Regions from separate parts of the Homo sapiens genome. Here all the other regions are linked to region 1. Evidence: promoter capture Hi-C in 16 types of primary human blood cells and fetal thymus (Javierre and others, 2016). All regions are on one chromosome and are shown on one strand. The core of a region is centred on a gene start or on the middle of the fragment in contact, and the rest is flanking DNA. Distances in the headings are between cores, read along the strand shown.

Region 1 (2,512 bases), core at 5-2,504:
ACTGAAAATAATTTAGGATAATCTGTTGTGTCCTTTGATTGTCTTCCATGCAAGTCAGAGTATTTCCTAAACATATTATTTAGCAGTGCCTCATATCACCCTTGAAAGGCAAGAGACAGACTACAGTATTATTACCCCCTTTTTATCACAGGGAAACTGAGGAACAAGAAGACAAAATTACAGTATGGTCACAAAAGCCATCATATTTTCTAGGACTTTAATTAAAGGCTCCAAGCCTACATTTCATCTTTTATTCTTCGCACCATCTGAATACTAGAATTATCTTTTACTATCGTCTTAACTGGAAAAAATAAAAATATCTAAACTTTAACATCATTTTCTCAATTTGGTACTGTCACAAAAAAAAAAAAAAAACAGTTTTAAAAGTCTGCCCTTGAAATGATATTTGCAAGAACAGCAAGGTGTAAGCAGTAACCCAACCTCCAAAAAATACAGTTGTAAATCTTACAGCTGTAATATAGTTGTAAATCTTAAGACAGGTCAGGAATCCTAGACCCAGCCTTTACTTTGAACATCTGGCAGGCCTCAGGGAAATAATGGAGATTCGTGTCTGTAAACAGTCTTTGCAGATGCTCTGATGAAAAGGTGCCCTAAGAGGCCCAGAACAGTGGTATCACTGCACCCACTACTGCAAACATGAAATCCTCCTCTGTCCCTCCCTGCATTGCACCACGAGACTCGTGGCACACACGGAGGCCTGTGCAAGAACCTCTCGACGATTCCTTTAAAATGTGGTAATATAAGGACGCCTTTGGTGCTGGGCCTCCGTAAACACTGAGGATACCGGATGTGGCCAGGCACACCTCAAAGTCTTGGCTCTCCAAAACCAGGGCCTGGTCGAGAGTTTTATTGGACACCGAGTTCCTGCGAATATCTCACTTTTCACACAGGCACTGCCAATCCCTACCCTCCAGTACCCTTCCTCAGCCTCCTGCCCCACTCTCGCCGCGAGTGTGGGCGTCCCAAAGAGCTAAGGAGGGTAAGGTTGGTTAGAGCGCAGGGGCCAAGGCCGCGGCAGCGAGGCCGTCCAGCGCGGGCTAGGATCCCGCCAGCCCAGCCCTGGAGCCCGGCCGCCTGGCCCCAGCCCTGGCCCGGGCCAACGCGCCGCCGCCACCGCCTATCAGCGGAGCGCAGGGGCGGGGTGCTGTCCGGACTAGGCTGCCGGGCCGGCGGGCGGGGGCGGGCGGGGACGGGCGGGGGACCGACCTCTGCGCAGCCCAGGCCGCCGCGCGCACACACCGGGCCCGGCTCCTGAGGGCGCCAGCGCGGCCCCGGGGAGCGCGAGGAGCCGGCGAAGCGCGCGGCCTGCCGTTGGCGGCCTGGTCCGCAGCGCCCTGCGCCCACCCGCCCCGGACGTGGGGCCCAAGCCCCCGTGAAGATGGTGTCCTGGATGATCTCCAGAGCCGTGGTGTAAGTGCCTCTCACTGCGCCCTGCAGCCGGCGCGAGGCCCAGGGGAGCTGTGGGAAGGGGAAGGAGCCGAGAGGAAAGGGAAGGCCTGGGCCTGGGCGGGGACGGGGTAGCCCGGCCTCGGGCCTGCCGAGGGTCTGGGGGAGCCCTCGGCTTCCTCACCTTGGTCCACGTCGCTGCGGAGCTCCCTGCGACGGCCGAGGGCCTAGCTGCGGCGACTGCGGCTGCGACGGCGGCGGCGGCTGTGGCGCTGCTCGGCTGCGTGCGGTGCGGCGCGGCGCCCCTGCTCCGGCGGCGCTGGGTGGGCAGGCGCTCAGGGCAGGCGGCGCGCGCTCCCCGCTCCTGCTCCCCGCGCAGCGCGGCACCGCCCTGCGGGCCCGGGAGCGGCGCGCCTCGCAGCTGCTCCCTGCGCAGGCTCCGCAGACGCCGAGCGCGGGAGGCTCCGCGATCCTCCCGAGGATGCGACGGCAGTGCCGAGCCTTTGTATCCCGCGGCTGATGCGTTGCGGTGTCTCTCTTGGCGGCTGATTGCCATTCGGTCACGTGTGGTAGGAGGAGAGATTTGTCTAAAAACCGGAGACCGCTCCCAGCCCAGGATCCCTGGGAAGGGTCCTAGTTTTCCCAAGATTTGCAGCTTACCGAGAAAGGTGACACCGGCTGCTCGCCCAGATCCCCGAATTCGGCCCTGTCTCGGCGGAAATATTTGCTAAGTGATTGAAAGGCTGCAGGTGCCTGTTGCCTTTGTTCAAATTATGGGTTCATTTCATTGTTCTCCTACCAACAAGTGCTACAGGTCTGTAAGAAAAAGAAATTCCTTGAGTTGGTGGTGTTAATCGTGTAAATGTATTTGAATACAGTTTAAACTGATTTTCTCTCATCTCCATTTTACCCCTCTCCCCGATTAAAAAAAAAGTCACCAAGTAAACAATGACGTAGTTACAGCTAGGGCCTATGAATTCATTATTCACCTCTGTAGTAGTGTTATCTCAGAAGGTTTCATAAAGGTATATGAAAAAATGTTTATGTGAGGGGGCAGGCTTCTCTGATAAGCTTTAGAATTTAGGAAAAATAACATTACCAGACT
Region 2 (2,512 bases), core at 7-2,506, 910 kb before region 1:
CAAGGCTGGGCCTGACTCCCTAGCTGAGGAGTCTCAATATAGGGTGTGGGACTGGGAAGGAGATGTCCCAAGAATGTAGCGAGGCTCCTAATGTCACGTAGTGACCAACATGTTCTTTTTGAATTGGGGATGGGGCGGGGGGAGATGGTTCAACTGTACACATCAAGAATGGACTCTTTTCCCTTTCTCTTAGCTCCTAAGCATTGCTAAGCTGAGTGGTCGCAGCTGGAATAAGTAAGCTCTGGCTGGAAACTCCCCCGAGGAATCTCTCCTCCCTGCTGTTCTTCCCCACCCCCAGAAAGCTTCGTTTCATGTCTAAAAGCTCAAAGATGTGCTGAGTCATACTGTACAAATAGCAGTGGACTAGGGAATTATAAAATGTCGCTTCCTTTCTTTCTTGGACATTTATTTATTGAGTACCTACTATGTGCCATGCCCTATGCTAAGCCCCAGAGAGAGAATGAAAAATGCAACATAATCCCTACATATGGTAGTTACTTTCTTACCCAATATCAATTCTCCCCTTCTTCCTAACAATCCAAATCCTGATTGTATTTGGAATTTCAATTCATTCAAGTCATCAAATATATCTCCCATTCTCTTTGCCACTAGGGATATCTATCCAGTCCCATTCTGACCAAAGAGAGAGAAGCAAGAGTCACTAAGTGCAGCTTCCAGGAAAGCTCTGTAGAAGGAGCAGGCTTCATTAGTGAATACCTTATTAACTTCCCTTTTTCCAGTCTGGAAGTTGGATATAGAGAAAGAACAGTCATTTTGTGACCACTGGGTGACAAGCATGAAGAAAACAGCCACAAATTAAAGAGAGCTGAGCAGAAATCTACATGGAAACAGGGGCCCTAATGATTAATCATATTATAGAGTTATCACGGCAACCTTGGCTATCTAAAAAAAATTAGTCCCCTAATTTGTCTAAGATATTGATCAACTGGGCTTTTGGTTACTTGCAGCTGAACACAATCCTAACTGCCACTTGACTACCCATGGCCTAGGGGAGTAAACAGATTTCTAAGATATGATGCCTTCCAGGTTGATAAGCAGTTATGTGAACAGAGCACAGAATGGATAGATCTGCTTTGATGGAGGAGAAACAACTGGTCAAAAAGGGTTTCGGAAAGGAAGAGATGCTTGAGTTGGGTCTTGGAGGATGAGTCATTCCCCAGCCACGAAGGAGTAGAAATGGCATCCAGGTTGACAGGACATACACGCAAAGACAAGAGAAGTGAAATAACGTGGCACACTCAATAATGTCGCTGAAATGACTTCATCTGACTGGGAAGAGGATGCTTGTGGGATGAGGTGGGGGATGACATCGAAGAGGGTAGAAGCCAGGTCATAAAAAGACTTGTGGGATCTTGGACAAGTCACAAAGCCAGTTCACCTCCAGTTTCCTCAGCTATAAAGAGAGGGGGTTCACTGAGAGGAGGGGGTAGCTCTGACCAGGGGGCTGCTCTGCAACCATCCCTTGCGGAACACTGGTTGGAGGCTCTGGCTCCTTTGCAAGACCCGGAAGTTTCCACAGGAAGTGCTGTCCTGCCTGGCCCGCCTCCCTTGGTTTCACACTGCATGGTGTAGTCCAAGGACTGCACTGGCATTTCAGTTTGAACACTAAGCGGTGACTCAGAACCAACAGAAGTGTGGACAACTGTTTACTAAGAAGGCAGCCTTTGGTGTGACAAATTAGAGTGGGCTGCTGGATTGTGCAGCACTCATGAGCTAGGCAGCTTGGAAATAGCACATACCATCGCATTGGGCAGTTGATTCATTTCTTGTCCTGTCTTGCCAGGCAGGGCATCACATGCCAACCCAGTCAGACCCACCATCTATATCCAGGCCAGGGGAAGTGTTCTTTTTTTCTTTTTCTTTTTCTGGATGATGCCTTAAGTACTCTGAGATTTGTACCAGCATCCCTTGTTTGTTTTTTAAAATAACTCTATTATCCAGGAATATGACACTTTCTACTATTCATATGTTTAGTTTCCTTAACCTCTTGGAGCCAAAAGATTGCAGTCTATAGAGAGGACCATAAAGTTTTAGAGTCATGAATTAGCTTCTAGATCATCAAGCAATGTCAGCACTTCAATTCGCAGAATATTAAAAACCAACAAATATATATGGATATGCTAGGTATAAGGAAGTGTGATGGGCTAGATACTGTAAGAGAACAGATAACAAGGAGGTGATTCCTGGCCTTAAGCTTAGACTAACCTTTAGAGGCTAGTTTAAGCTTACACTCTAGATTGCGAGGCCAGGAAAGCCACGTGGCAGACAGATCAGGATTTGAACTCTGGCTCTAGGGATGATGACAATGGGTGCAACTTGGACTCATTCTCTTAATCTTTTCCAGTTTCTCTTTACTCATCCACAAAACAGGGATAATAGTACCTGCCTCCCATGGCAGATGTGAGAATTAGAGATCATGTGTGTAACAGCTACAGTGTGCAGTGGAGAGTAGTTAGTTGCTCAGCAAATGATGGTTATTCCTATTATCATT
Region 3 (2,512 bases), core at 7-2,506, 710 kb before region 1:
TATTAATAGGCAGAAATATACAGCCATACTAAACTCAGGGAGTGATTTTTTTTCTCCATAATAAGGCAACCCATTTACATGCAGACCTTGTAACATTGTCTACATCACACAAGGCACCAAGGACACTTCCAACACAATTGCATGCATCCTAGTTTCAGAGAATATATGTACATCCCCCTTAAATAAGTTAACCTCTGAGATCATAAATGCTTTACATTTTTTCCCAAAGATTCAGAATTTAGAGAACAGTGTACATCAAAAATACACAAAATCTGAGTGGATATACACTGAAAAAATAGCCTACATTTCTCAAACAACTCGAAAAGGAGCAGATATTGCTATGTTCCTCCCATCACATTGCACTTCTGTTCTCTGAGTTTATAATACATATTGCTTCAAGGGTTGAGACAACTAGATATGCTCTGATTCACCATTTTAGGGCCACAGAGTGTGGCATAAAGGCTATACTTCACTCACTGTACAATGTCCCCCAAATCAGTCCCAAGCCATAAAGTGCACATCAGTTTTGCTTGTCTTTTTGCTGTCCCCACTTGAAGGGATCAGCATCTCCCAACCTATTGTAGAAAACGTCTTAGATCAACTCTGACATCCAGGGTCAAAAACCTGTGATGGGTCAAAATAAGGGGAAGTGGGGTAGCAAAACCTAGTCAAACAACCCTTTAAAGCAGGGTCAGACCTCAGCCCTCTTGGCCAGGGGTCCCCACACCACCTCCTTCTGAGCCTCCCCTTTGCCTTGGGTTGATAGTCAACTCACCTAAGAGAGACTAGAATGGGCTAAGTTTTAGGAAGAACCTGCTTCTAGGTGGAAAGGGGGCAGTGCTAGCTCCACCAAAGCCCTTTGCCCAACAAAGGGAGAGAGGGACAGGAAAGGGTGGTAGTGTTTGTTGTGCAGCTCCAGTGGACAAAGGGCCTCCGGGACCTTTGGGAGCTGGTGTATCAGCCTGAGTCTCATCTCAAGGTGTCCGGGTCCGAGAGGAGCAAGGGGCGAGCGGCCCTCCGCCAAGACTGCTGCTGTTACTGCTGCACAGGGTACCCCCAGGCTGCACGCCCCCAGAGCAGGAGGCTGTAGAGGGGGCTGGCACCGATGCAGAGGGGGCACTGCTTTTCCGCTCTTTCTGTCTCAGGTGGATCTTGGTGTGGCGCTTCCTCTCATCACTCCGGGCAAACTTTCGGCCACAGTAGTCACAGGCGAAGGGCTTCTCACCGGTGTGGGTGCGGATATGGGTGGTGAGGTGGTCACTGCGGCTGAAGTTGCGCATGCAGATCCGACACTGGAAGGGCTTATGCCCAGTGTGGATTCGGATGTGCCGTGTCAGCTCGTCAGAGCGGGAGAACCGCCGGTCGCAGCCTTCTGCTGGGCACGGGTAGGGCCTCTCGTGCACCGGCGTCTTGCTGGGTCTGTTGGGGTACTTGCGAGGCCTCAGAATGGGCCGCAGTGGCAGGTGGTGTGGGTTATAGGCGGCGGCGGCGGCGGCTGCTGCTGCTGCTGAGCTGCTACCAGGCAGCCGGGGTCCCTCGCTGCCTCCACTGGCCCCTGGTCCGGTCACCCCAGCACTGGGGCCCCCCAGGGTAAAGTTACGGATTGTAGAGAGTGGAGTGAGTGGAGGGGGCACCCGCAGGGTGTCCAGTGGGCAGGGAAAGGGCTTACGGTCTGGGCCAGCTGTACCATGTAGGTCTCTCTGGCACTGAGATGGAAAGAATCCAGGATAGTCTGGGATCATTGGGAAGAGACCTGGGTCCGTGGCTGGCTTGGGGGATGGATAGGAAGGAGGTGGTGGGTAGGCCAGAGAGGAAGAGGTGGAGGTGGTGGCTGCTGACAGGAACGCAGAAGGGTCCTGGTAGAGGTCTCCTGCACAGCCAGAATAAGGAGGAGGAGGCGGTGGCGGAGAGTACAGGTGGTCCAGGTCAGGCTGGGTCTGGGACATGGTGCACACACCCAGGGGTCCTGTGGCCAGTGGGTTGGGGGAGGCAGAGGTGACGCTGGATGAGGCTGTGGTTGAAGCTGGGGAAGTGACCCCTTGCAAGATGCCTGCACTCACAATATTGATTATGCCTTCTGGGTAGCAGCTGGCACCAGGGTACTGAGGGTCAATGGAGAACTTGCCCATGTAAGTGAAGGTCTGGTTTCTAGGTGCAGAGACGGGAGCAAAGCTGCTGGGATATGGGAGATCCAACGACCTCTTCTCTCCAGTCATGTCAATGTTGATCATGCCATCTGGGGAGGGGAAAGGCAGAATGGAGGTGGAACAATGAAAATACAGCCAGGACTCCCTTCTCACCCCCGCTCACATAGGTCCATTTCCAAGGCCGAGAGTCTCAGCACTGTAGAGCTGTGGCAAAGTCCAAAAGGTGGGGAAATTGAGGCCCACAGACTGTAAGAAGAGGCCAGCCCAACTGTGGCAACCCATTGACAGTATGGAACTCAAGAACTACCTCCAAAAAAGCAGAATGAGCTTTTCCCAACTCCCCTCCACCCCCAGCCATCTGTGGC

What was found. Contacts are between HindIII fragments. The CHiCAGO score rates a contact against its expected background, and 5 or more counts as called.
Region 2: a contact is called between a fragment that was not itself captured here and the fragment with the promoter of REEP3 in region 1, in 1 of 17 cell types (neutrophils). The highest score is 5.5, in neutrophils.
Region 3: a fragment that was not itself captured here is called in contact with the fragment with the promoter of REEP3 in region 1 in 3 of 17 cell types (fetal thymus, erythroblasts and neutrophils); the score reaches 7.3 in fetal thymus.

What each region holds. Positions count from the first base shown.
Region 1 is chr10:63,520,147-63,522,658 of GRCh38, forward strand. It overlaps REEP3 (receptor accessory protein 3), which reads left to right and starts at 1,255. Exons shown (of 8, transcript NM_001001330.3): 1 at 1,255-1,431. The coding sequence starts at 1,400. It also overlaps a transcript of JMJD1C not described here. RefSeq lists an enhancer at 451-500 and a silencer at 891-1,940. The HindIII fragment of the contact is 3,716 bases long and covers 1-2,476 here.
Region 2 is chr10:62,613,330-62,615,841 of GRCh38, forward strand. No RefSeq gene overlaps it. Among named protein-coding and RNA genes, the nearest start is that of ADO, 190 kb to the right of the region's middle. The HindIII fragment of the contact is 1,913 bases long and covers 301-2,213 here.
Region 3 is chr10:62,812,233-62,814,744 of GRCh38, forward strand. It overlaps EGR2 (early growth response 2), which reads right to left. Exons shown (of 2, transcript NM_000399.5): 2 at 1-2,236. The coding sequence ends at 975. Among named protein-coding and RNA genes, the nearest start is that of EGR2, 2.9 kb to the right of the region's middle. The HindIII fragment of the contact is 7,552 bases long and covers 1-2,512 here.